4 separate regions of the Homo sapiens genome follow, and all the other regions are linked to region 1. The links are contacts of gene promoters, found by promoter capture Hi-C in blood cells and fetal thymus (Javierre and others, 2016). All regions are on one chromosome and are shown on one strand. The core of a region is centred on a gene start or on the middle of the fragment in contact, and the rest is flanking DNA. Distances in the headings are between cores, read along the strand shown.

What was found. The method cuts DNA at HindIII sites, captures the fragments that hold promoters and counts their contacts. A CHiCAGO score of 5 or more calls a contact.
Region 2: a contact is called between a fragment that was not itself captured here and the fragment with the promoter of CYBRD1 in region 1, in 1 of 17 cell types (M1 macrophages). The highest score is 5.6, in M1 macrophages.
Region 3: a fragment that was not itself captured here is called in contact with the fragment with the promoter of CYBRD1 in region 1 in 1 of 17 cell types (erythroblasts); the score reaches 5.5 in erythroblasts.
Region 4: a fragment that was not itself captured here is called in contact with the fragment with the promoter of CYBRD1 in region 1 in 1 of 17 cell types (erythroblasts); the score reaches 8.6 in erythroblasts.

What each region holds. Positions count from the first base shown.
Region 1 is chr2:171,520,936-171,523,911 of GRCh38, reverse strand. It overlaps CYBRD1 (cytochrome b reductase 1), which reads right to left and starts at 1,438. Exons shown (of 4, transcript NM_024843.4): 1 at 1,174-1,438. The coding sequence starts at 1,366. RefSeq lists silencers at 800-869, 1,020-1,129 and an enhancer at 1,240-1,349. The HindIII fragment of the contact is 3,994 bases long and covers 1-2,976 here.
Region 2 is chr2:171,024,191-171,027,166 of GRCh38, reverse strand. All of the region lies in intron 12 of TLK1 (tousled like kinase 1), which reads left to right. Among named protein-coding and RNA genes, the nearest start is that of GORASP2, 96 kb to the right of the region's middle. The HindIII fragment of the contact is 1,583 bases long and covers 803-2,385 here.
Region 3 is chr2:171,084,872-171,087,847 of GRCh38, reverse strand. The region is part of intron 2 of TLK1 (tousled like kinase 1); the gene reads left to right. Among named protein-coding and RNA genes, the nearest start is that of TLK1, 75 kb to the left of the region's middle. The HindIII fragment of the contact is 1,076 bases long and covers 1,035-2,110 here.
Region 4 is chr2:171,159,910-171,162,885 of GRCh38, reverse strand. TLK1 (tousled like kinase 1) reads left to right here and starts at 1,993. Exons shown (of 21, transcript NM_012290.5): 1 at 1,993-2,596. The coding sequence starts at 2,458. RefSeq lists silencers at 1,403-1,462, 1,593-2,312, 2,583-2,822 and an enhancer at 2,177-2,821. The HindIII fragment of the contact is 4,171 bases long and covers 1-2,976 here.

The DNA.
Region 1 (2,976 bases), core at 189-2,688:
GCTACTCCTCTCGATTATTTTCTGCGACATAACACCACTCCACCCCTTGCTGCCTTTCTCTAACTACTTTCTGAAGGCCGTGCCTTTGGGGAAGTGGTTACAAATAAATGGTGTTTGCGCCAAAAGCTAGAGGTTCCTCCAGCTACACGGCAAACCGAAGGAAGCAGTCAGGACATTGAGAGGCACTACACAATGACAACAAACATTGCCAGCGACTGCTGAGCCCCTCCCCCGCGCCAGCCTCAGCCCAGAGAATGCAGGCCCGGGGCTGGCTCGCCGCGGGCCAAACACGGACGCAGCTTGCGCCGGGGGCATCCCGAGCAGAGGCATCCCTCGGTGCCAGGCAGCCGCGGGCCCTCTCCGGGCATCTCCCACCCGGAGTGCTGGGCCAGTGCCCAATAGGAAGCCCCGCGGGGGAACTTTCGCCACTCTTCTGCCACATAAACAAGTCGGGCTCAAGACCGTCCAATGACTGGGCAGGGCGGCGAAACACACTTGGAAGTCCTGGCAGCTTCCCGGACTCGACTGAGTTTAACACTCTAGGAGGAGAGGAACCCAGGGCGGATGCTTCACTCGCCCCCCTTGGCCAGCCCCTTTACCCAGGGCCGAGGATGTTACAAATACGGGCAAATTCTCGCTCCGGCAATCTTTTCCCCGCTGCCTTCCCCTCCTCATCTGCAGCCTGGAAGCAAGTTCAGCAAAAGGCTGAGGCGAAAGTGTTTCCGCGCCCCCGATCGCGCAGGCTCGGTCCACAGGGGCGACTTTCCGGGGCGCGTGGGCTGCAGCGGCCCGACTGCGCGGCGCTCCGGCATCGCGCCCGGGCTCAAGTTTCTGGGTCTTGGAGGCCCCTCCAGTGCGTCCTAGCCAGTCGCCGCAAAGAGTTAACCAAGTGGGGCCGGCCCCGCTCCGCCGCCCCCAGCAGCGCGTCTCCACCGCGCACCCCCGGCCCCGCGCTCGCGGCGATCCTCCTGAACCGCAGCTCTGTCCCGCCCCAGAGCCAGCCAGCCTCCCTCCCGCCCAGCCGACTTGGCTTCCCGCGCGCTCCTCACCGCACTCCTCCGGGCCCCGCGATCCTCCAGCACTTCCTCAGCTGGAAGGGGCTTCACGGAGGACCCTCTGCCCCCGCCGTTCTCCCCGCTTTCCTCCCCGCACCCCCCCAGGAGGTGCCAGTACCGATGCCCTGGATGAAGACGAAGCCGGTGACCATGAGCACTGGGTGCCAGTTAAACTCTAGTGCGCTCCCATCCCAGCCAAGCCCCTCTCGGTAGTGGAGGACCCAGACGAGGGCGAAGATCACCGACAGGAAGCCGACGAGCAGTGCCGACCCCAGCAGCGCCAGGAAGCGCCAGTAGCCCTCCATGGCCATCAGCGCCCCATACTCCGCACCGCGGGGGCCACAAGAACTTGGAGAGGCGGCGGCAGCCCTCTGGGTAGTGGCCGGGCGGCGGGACCGGGGCGTCGACTTCTTGGGGCTGTCTCCGCCTGCGGGGAGGGACTTTCTGGGCTGCTGGCCCGGAATGTGGGGCCTCTTGGGGGTGGGGAGCTGGCCCCAACTCAGAAATGGGCCCCACCCCCGGGATCACGCGGCCGCCGAGGGCGCTCATTGCCTGGTGGCCTCACCCTCTCCCTCGTCCAGCATCCAAGCTCGCAGAGGGCTTCAGTAACAGACCTAGTTAGTTGCTCAAAGAGAAAATTCCGAGGATTTTATACTCACCACTTGCTTTTAACACTTCCCGTGTCTCGTCCTTATTTGTGGGGAGGTTGAGTAGGGCAGTGGTGCGCCCTCTTGGTTAAGAGAAGAGAGGGATCCGTTGGGTAGGGTTATGTGTGTGCTTTTAACTACTAACGAAGCCTCCTTAGCCACAGTGCTGGAGAATTGGCTGTCTCTGACATCAAAGGGTGTTAAGGAGGAACCTGTAAGGTGGTGTAAACTAAAAATAAAATCCTAAGCCCCTCACTGACTGAATGGACCTCCTTGGCCAAGCAGACCCCAGAAAAACCTTAAAGCTGAGTTTCTAGCTACAGCCGGAAGGGAAGTCTACCCCCTCCATTTTGGAATTTAGACTCAACAGCTGACTAGCATTAATGTTTAAAATAGAAATCATAAGGCGGACAGAACAGACTCTTTGTAGCAATAAGACATCAAATTATAAAAAGGACCTAAGTCACACACTCCTACACTTAAGAAATAAACTATGGTCTAACTGCCACAAAGGTTTTCTTTTCCTCTAGAGGCTAAACAAGCACTGGCTTGAGATAAGCAATATTAAAACAATTACAACTTAATCAGTTCACAGATGCTGACCAGCTGAACCCCTGTTGCACCAGCCAGAACTACAGCTTTCACTGGGCTGATTTCAGGAACTTTTTCATGATAAGAAGACCGACCATGGACCGGTTCTGGCCAGTGTACAGGGATTGTGCACTTGTATGCATTCACGTCCTGAAAAGACCTTTTGAAGTGTAGGTTTGAAGTAATACATTTAAATGTATTTGAAGTAATACAATTAAATGTTAAGTCTCCACCCCAAAGAGAACATGTTACATGCATGTTTGTTCAATATGCATGTGTAAGGACCACCTCCATTAATATTCATAGCTCCTCCTGTAACCTGTTACGTATGTATGTTTGGCCAAACTGTTCAGCATAAAGCTCCTACCCCAACCCCTCTGCCTTCCAAGTGCCTGTCTCTGGTCTTAGGCCAGAGGCTATGTTTATCAGCCTATGGAATGGCCTCCTTGCAGGCTATAACCTTTTATAAGAAATAAAGTCTCCTCTTTTTTCAAATTTATAATTTTTTGTTTTAAGTTAACAGTAAAGGCCAGGCGCAGTGCCTCACACCTGTAATCTTAGCACTTTGGGAGGCTAAGGCGGGCAGATCACTTGAGTCCAGGAGTTTGAGAACAGCCTGGGCAACAAGGTGAAACCCTGTCTCTACTGAAAATACAAATGCATGCACCTGTAGCCCCAGCTAC
Region 2 (2,976 bases), core at 345-2,844, 500 kb after region 1:
ATTCTGGTAGCAGCTACTATTACACTGCATACTAATTTGTTTTGGAAATGTTATTAATATGCTGGGGATTCCTACCATTTATAGGGAATAGAAAATTATTATATATAATTTGCATTAGTATCCTTTAATATGCTATATCTGTCTATGCCAACTGCCCAGAAAGCTTCAACGTAAACTACTTGAACAGTGAATTAAAAAGTGATTTATTTTGGTTTTGTTATTTAAGTAGTTCTATTCTGTTCTATTGTAATTATTGACTACTTTTCCTGCGCTTTGAGACTTAGTTGACAACTTAAGTCTATTCTCTATAATAATAGATGGAGCTATATAACTATCATAATAGTTCTATAATAGTGATAGAACCATATAAAGGAACTATGGAAGCGAAAAGGGAATTTTTAGTACAGGATGAGTCGTAAGTATCTGTGTGCCCACTTAAACTGTTTTGATAATGAGTTCGTAAGGGCCTATGCTTTATGTCTCATATAAAGATTTACCAGTTATTTTCTAACCAGCCTGTGGTGATAAAGGAATACTTATTTACTTAGTTATAGTGATTCCAAGGTGTACTTGAGAGTTTTACTGAAGGGTTATTATCTTCACGTGTAATACCAAATTTCAGATTACTCTTTCTAAATGATGACATTTTACATATGCACCTTATTTTATGAAAATCTGTTATAAAATCTGAAATTGTAGAGCAGTTAAATTAGGAATTGGCTATTTGTATTACAAAAAGTACACTTTGAAAAGGCTTCAAAGGAGGGTTTGTTTTTGTTTTTGGTTGGTTGGTTTTAAAGCTTTCCTGGTACTTTGAAAATACTGGTTTCTGTGAAAAACACTTTTATAAAGTAAGGTATACTTAGTGTCCAAATATTATATAGACATTTGTAAAATGTTGTAGAACACTAAACCTTCTAACCTTCGTATTTTCCTCTTTCCCAGTGTTTGACTTCTATATTTTTCGTATTTACTTACTCTTTCCAATAATTATCCCTTCCATAATCTTTTTCCTGCTTTTTTTCCTAGCTTTTATCAAATTTACTGAGCAGTCTTAGATTTCTAACTTTATCTTCTTTTTAACTAATTTACAACATAACTTTTCTTTTCTTTGACCTTCATCATGGAATATTTTGGGGAAATGGATTAACAGTAATGCTGAAACATACTCTCATGTCATGAATACCCATGTTTTCTTCTGAGAGACTATTTTGGGTGAGAAGAATGAGTGTATTATAAAGAAAGTGGCCAGTAGTACATACAGGGAACAAAATTAAGCAAGTAATGTCACCTTAGAGCATAAATAGCAGTTGCCTGCTTAGAACCGAGTATTAATTTTTGAGTTATACAGTTAAAAAATAATAAGCAATAAGTTACATGTATAAAAATAAGTTATTTGGCATTCTGAAGCACAGTTGGAAAATAGGTCATTCTGTTTTCTAAAAAAGATTAAACAGATTTTTAAAACACAGGACAGGCTTGAGTCAAAAGAAAAGATGTTATCACTTCTGTCTTATCAGCTCCCTATGCTCCTGGGTTTATTAAGCAGACATGAACCCCGACTTGTAAATATACAGCTTCTACCATAGGCTGGATCTGAATATTTGACGCCCCTTGTATCCTGCACAGGAAATATAACCAGTCAGTTTACGGTTTAGATTTGGAGCCTGGCATACTCTTGCATTAGCATGGGTGACTCTCTTGCCCTTTCTCCCTTCAATAAATTCTTAACATTAAGCAGAACTAATTATTAGACTAACTTTCTTAGCACTGAAGGACCAAAGTTCATTGAGGAAGCCCATGGCATATGGACATAGGAGAATAGAAAGACCTGTTTACTTTTTCTTGAAGTGGATAATTTATGACATGCTTTGTGTTTCATAATGATAATCACTATAATTGAAAAGCTAAACTAAAATATGAAAAAGTATATTTACCTTTGAATAAATCATGAAGTTTAGTTCATATTTTATGCTGTTCTTCAGGGTTAGAAAAATAATAAATCCAAAGATAGCCTTACTCTATTATCCAATGTGTGATAGAGTAAGGAATGAGAGTCAGGCAGAAACCTCCAAAAGTAAATACATGGCTAAAATAAATAGGTGTTTCTAGTTACTACCAAAAAGTAAATGTAAACTTACTTATGGACTTATTAGTTTTCTCTTCTGAGATTAGGAAAATCACAGCAGAGCGTCACTTTTTTTCCTCTCAACTGTATCAAGAATTCTTTTATCTAATATTTATTGTTATAGTTGTTCCCAAGTTTAAGCAGTCGTTGCTCACCCATTTATTAAGTGACTTATTGCCATACTCTGCCTGACACAGGCATAATTCAAATTCCCATTTTAACGGAATTACATATTACTTTTTATAGACTTTGAAGCTTTCACCATTTTTGAGTGAACATTAATTACACCTTTTTGAAAGCCCAGATCTATATATACTTCCTCTGGAGTAATACCACCAGTAAGTGACAAAGCCAAAACTTGAACCATTCCCACTCCTATTTCAATGACTGTACCCATGTAGTTAATTCCTAGAATTATTTTGTTGTAGATTAATAGTAAGTTGATTCTTTGTATTCAGAAAAATTAATTCACTTGTGGCTTTCCTTGCATCTCTATTAAGTACTGGACTGTTTGCTTTTCCTTAAGTTTTCTTTTGGTGTGTGGCGGGATGAACGTGCTATTTCATTTTCATTACAGATAAAGGAGAACAGTTTTAAGTTAATTATTTTTCATACACATTCTTTTTCATTCTCTTTCACATACTTTCTTCCTTGGGCATTATGTTAGTGACTGTTGAATCAACTACAATATTTCTTTATTATTAACTAATATATTGATTTTCACTCGATTTATTTTTAAAGGTCAACAAAGACCTTTTTAAAAAGCACATTTTTAAATAAAAACTCAAATAATTTTAAAATATATCTTAAGGAATTCTTAGAATAGAACTATATAGTAAAATGTATGG
Region 3 (2,976 bases), core at 323-2,822, 440 kb after region 1:
TGCCTTATGCATCTTAGTACAGAGTTCTCCTAGCTCACTATTTCCAGAGTGAAGTTGGCCTCCAGCATTTATGATGACAAGTCAACTGTTACTTTTATCCTTTTTTGTTCTCATGTGTACTTTCTCCAGCTGCTTTCAAGATTGTTTTCTTTATCTTTGGTTTTTCAGCAGTTTGACTATGATGTGCGTAGGTGTGGTTTTCTTTGTAGTTATCCTGCTTGGGAGATTGAGTGAACTTCAATCTGTAAATTAATGTCTTTGCCAAATTTTGGGATTTTTCTGGCTGTCATTTTTTCAAATATTTTTTTCTGCATATTTTTCTCATTTTATGACCCCAGTTACATGTATCTTAGACTGCTTCATGGTGTCCAACAGACACTATTTTTCAATATTTTTTTCTCTGTTCTTTAGTTTGAGTAATTTCTCTTGACCTATCTTCAGTACTCTTTTTCCATTCTTCTGTTAAGCCCATTCAGTAAGTTTTCTATTTTAGAGAGTGAAATTTTCAGTTGTAGAATTTACGTTCAGCTCTTTTTACGGTTTTTATTTGTCTGCTGAAATTTCCAATCTTGTCGTTTGAGCTACTTATATTAGCTGCTTTATGTTATTTATTTGCTGATTCCAAATCTGTGTTACTTCATGATTAGTATCTATTGATTGTCTTTCCTCTTGAGTATGGGTCACTTTTTCTTGTTTCTTCATATGATTACAAATTTTTATTGTATCCTCCACGCTGTGAATGACACATTACAGTGACTTTGGAGACTGTTTTTTGTTTGTTTTTCTTTGTTTTAGGAGGCAGTTAACTTGGCTAGACTGAAATTTAAGCTATGTCTCCCTGCAGAGGGCAGCACTGACATCCCTGCTAGTTGTTTTAGTCTTATCTAGGCTGCTTATCGTCTGCTCCGTTTTTGCATAGATCACTGACCAGCCAAAGAAGTAGGCAGAGTTAATATGCAGAATTTGGGACTCTCCCTTTGTGGATCTTTATTTTCCAGCGTATCCCTCCTTACTTTGCAGCCTCTTTGGAAGCTTGAAACTCTTGTTTTTCAAGCCAGTAAGACTAAAGATTTTGATCTGGGTTTCAACTGCTGTTTGTGCAGCTCTGATCTCCGGGACCTTCCCCTCAGCAAAAGCTGTAAAAACAGGAAACCTACCCAGATCTATTCCCTTCTTCTCCTCTTCTTTTTTTTTCTGTTTTTTTTTTTTGTTTGTTTTTTTTGAGACGGAGTCTTGCTCTGTTGCCCAGGCTGGCATATAGTGGTGCGATCTCTGCTCACTTTAACCTCTGTCTCCCAGATTCAAGCATTTCTCCTGCCTCAGACTCTCTAGTAGCTGGGATTACAGGCATGCGCCATGACGCCTGGCTGTTTTTTGTATTTTTAGTAGAGACGGGGTTTCACTATGTTGGCCAGGCTGGTTTTGAACTTGTGACCTCAAGAAGTCTGCCTGTCTAGGCCTCCCAAAGTGCTGGGATTACAGGCGCGAGCCACTGCACCCAGCCTCTGTTCCCTTCTTCTAAGTGTTGTCTTGTACTTAGATTCTGCCTACTTTTGGTTCAGGTAGTGGCTTTTTTAAATCCTTTTTTTCCAGGATTTATATATAGTTATCTGTAGAAAATAAGGTATTCTGTTTTTACTGGTGGTGGAATCTTATTCATCTACCTACCTACTTATATTTTTATTGTTTGTTTTAAAAGATAAAAATATTTCATGAATTTTTATTGATATTTCCTATTCAAACTCAGGATTATAAGGTTTTTTTCATATGCATCTTTATACTGTGAATTATGAAATTCGAAGATACGAAGCAGAGGATAGAATTGGATATCCCTTAATTATTTTACTTTATTCTGTATTTCACACACATAGCTGTCTCAAAATAACATTAGCACAGTGAACAAAGTGGGTACTGAAAACAATTATTTTGTGTATGCTTTCCATCCCCTAGTTTTAAAAATACTGTACTATTAACTTTGCATGCATTTAGTCATTAAATATTATATCCTCTCCCTTGTCATTATCATTTAATCTTGATCAACAATAAGTCATATTATTGCTTGCCTTCAGTTCTTAGACTGGTAAACTATTCATTTTGGTTGTCTTAAGCTTGTTCTGTAGTAGATTCTTTAGGAAGGGCTCATGGGAGCAGGGTTCCCTAATTGCTTGCATTTTTGGTAACCGTTTATCTATGCTTTCCATGTGTTTAAAATGGATTTTACTGAATATAAAACACTTTGCTTTTATTTTCTTTCCTTGAATAGCTTATGTCACTCCATTTTTGTCTGGCATAAAGTGTTTGCCTTTGATGTTCGCTTTCTGGGTTGTTATTCCTAGGTGTGCATGGTGCTCTGTCAGTAGTTTCAATTTTTTTAATTGAACATTTAAAAAACAACAACTGACAACAAGAGACTGACAACTGAAAATGTCAGAGACATTTTTTTTTCTTTTTTTTTTTGAGATGGAGTTTTGTTCTTGTTGCCCAGGCTGGAGTGCAATGGTGTGATCTTGGCTCGCTGCAACCTCTGCCTCCCAGATTCAAGTGATTCTCCTGCCTCAGCCTCCCAAGTATCTGGGAATTACAGGTGTGCACCATCACGCCTGGCTAATTTTGTATTTTTAGTAGAGACAGGGTTTCACCATGTTGGTCAGGCTGGTCTCGAACTCCTGACCTCAGGTGATCTGCCCGCCTCCGCCTCCCAAAGTGCTGGGATTACAGGCATGAGCCACTGTGCCCAGCCATCAGAGACATTTTCTTGAATTACAGTTTTTACTATTTTCTGGCTTTAGTAGTTTTTAGGGTCTTCTGTTATCTGTATATTGATCTTTGTTGCTTCATCATCAGCTGTAGCTTACTCTCAAATACTTTTCATCTCTTCATTTCTTTTGATTTCAAAAATGTCCCTGTTTTTTGCCTTCTGGTTATCTTAAAGCATTATCTACTGTATATATTTGCTCTTGGGTTCATTCAGATATA
Region 4 (2,976 bases), core at 272-2,771, 360 kb after region 1:
GGGAGGCGGAGGCTGCAGTGAGCCGAGATGGCACTCCAGCCTGGGCAAAACAGAGTAAGACTCTGTCTCAAAAACAAAAAACAAAAAACAAAACCAAAGCCAGACAAGAGTACAAATTGACTGTATGGCCTGCATTTATCTAAAATTCTATGAAATGGAAAGCTACCCATATGACAGAAAGATCTGTGGTTGGAGAGAATGGAAGTAGTGTGGAGGAGGAACCACAAAGAGGAAACTTTGGAGGGTGATAGATACATTCACCATCTTCCTTGTAGAAGTGGTTTCAGGGAGGTATACACATCAAAACTTATCAAATTGTACACTTTATTTTTATTTTTTTGAGACAGAGTCTAGGAGTCTCGCTCTGTCGCCCAGGCTGGAGTGCAACGTTGCGATCTAGGCTTACCGCAACTTCTGCCTCCCGGGTTCAAGCGATTCTCCTGCCTCAGCCTCCCGAGTAGCTGGGACTTCAGGCGCGTGCCGCTACACCCGGCTAATTTTTGTATTTTAAGTAGAGATGGGGTTTCACCATGTTGGCCAGGCTGGTCTCAAACTCCTGACCTCGTGATCCGCCCACCTCGGCCTCCCAAAGTGCTGGGGTTACAGGCGTGAGCCACCGCACCTGGCCAATAATTGTACACTTTAAATATGTGCAGTTTATTTTGTCAATTATACCTCAATAAAGTTGTTTGTGAGATGTCCCTCTTAAGTTTGAAAAGCAGACAAGACTAAAAACTCACTGAAGTATCTAAAGCACAAGGCAACTACAATTACTTCTGGAGATAACTGACAATCAAGGTTCTTTTCTAGTATGATAGTTTATCTGAACAAAACATTACTATGAGAAATGCGAAGTCATAAAAATAAAAAATAGAAACGACATTTTTGTCCCCCTGGTAATCATGCCATTTCCTCTTGTCTGTGCAGTAGCGCTATATCATAATCTTTTTAGTGCTCTATTCAATTTGGTTTTCTAAAGAGAGAAATAACCTTGTTGTACTTTTCCTGAACTAGAGTGCTCTTTTATGTACAAGAAGCCCAATCCCTGGTGTGAGTATACTTGTGTGGGTCTGTAGAAAGCTACACTCTATCTATAAATTTTAGCAAATGCTGTTATTTATTTTGGGATTTTTGTAGTCGGGACTCAGCGGAGACACTAGAAACAAATTATAAGTTTCTAGAAACCATACCTTCTGCAAGATGAACGCTGTATAGTTTTCCTAAATATGTGATTCAGTAATCACATTTTTCATTTAGATTTTCCACTTACTGTTTTAAAACAAAGAATTGCTATACCATACAGTCTACAAAACTGGTAATTTTCAATTTCCTCATTAAAGATTCTTCACTCTTTTTTAGAAAACACGAGAAAGTTTTATTTCCCAACTCTCCCACTACCCATGTTTATTTTCATAGCTCTTTTATTCGGTCATTATTCCCATTCTGCAGACGGGGAGGCGCACATACGTTTTTCTGCACAGTACAGAGGGGCAAGAAAGAAGGAACTCTCAACTTTTCAGTTCCATTTTGAGAAACGATCACATTGAACTCCCGAGAAGCGGCAGCTGAGCGAGAGCAGCAGCATTTCTCCCCGTGTTGGGTGTGGGTCAGGAGAGAGGCGCGCTTCCGCGGGAGACAGGGGGAGTCAGGTGGCAGCGGCGCTGGAGCCCGAGCGGCGCGGCGGGGGCGCGCCTCCCTCCGGCCGGCGCGGGGACGCTGCCCCCGCGCACGCGAGTCCGGCAACCCCGGGCTCCCGCGCCGCGCGGCGATCCGCGGGTGCGGCAGGGGCGCCCCGGCGCTCTAGTCTCTTCCCTCGCGCGCTCGCTCCTTCCCCATGCCCCCACCCCCCAGCCCCTGGCAGGTCCCTCCCCCAAGCCTGCTCCCGCGGCCGCCGCTGCCGCCGCCGCCGCCGCCGCCGCTACCGGAGGCGCAGGAGCCTCGCGATAGTGTTTGCACAGGCGGCGCGTGACGCCGCCGCCGCCTGTAACTGATGCAGAGGTTACCCCACCGCCTCAGCCGCCACCCACAGCCCGCCGCCGCCGCCTCCCGGGCGACGCCGGGGGCCGACGCACTGCAGAGGTGCCGGCAGGTTCCGCCCGCGGAAGTGTCCTCGGCCGGCGCAGCCCGCGCTCCGCCCGCGCTCCGACCCCGGCCCGGCTGGCACCCCCTCGACGCCTCCGCCGCCGCGCTCCTTTCCTCCTCCTCTCCTCTGGCGCGCCCGCTCGCTCCCTCGCTTCTCCCCCTTTCCCTCCTCCCTGTCCCCTCTCCTTCCCTCACCTCTTTCCTCCCCACCTCCCCTCTTCTCGGTTTCCTCCCCCATCCCCTTGACTCTCCCCTCCCAGCCCTCGCTCTCTCGCTCGCCCTCAGCGCGGCCCCCGCCATGACGGAGGCGGGTGCCGGTGCCGTTGCCGCCGCTGCCGTCGCAGGGGGGGAGTCGGGTTCCCAGAAAGTAGCTTGATGAGTGTCCAAAGTAGCAGTGGAAGTTTGGAGGGGCCGCCATCTTGGTCCCAGCTCTCCACGTCTCCAACCCCGGGCTCGGCGGCGGCGGCCAGGTCCCTGCTGAATCACACGCCGCCATCCGGGAGGCCCAGGGAAGGTAAGCACCGCCGCGCCCGCGCCCGCTCGCGGGCCTCCTCTCCCGCGCCGCGGACCCCCGCGCCCCCCCCCCGCCCCCCCCGCCCCGGGGCTTCTCCGCCAGACCCTGGGGTGGGGGATGGTGGCGAGGTGGACGCGAGGCCGCCCGGCTCCCCGGCTCTGGGGAGGTAGTGCCCTGGCTGTGGATGGTGGTTCGCGGGTGGCGGAGGAGACGGACGAGGGGGTGCGCGCTGGTGGGGACGGGGCGAGGCGCATAGACTCGCCTGGGGTTCCTGGGAGCCAGTCCTGCGAGGGTGGGAAGCCTCCCCCCAGACGCGAGCCCCTTTCTGCTCCATTTGCCAGTACACTCAGTACTCTTAACCTCCTGGCCTCCGGTCTCTG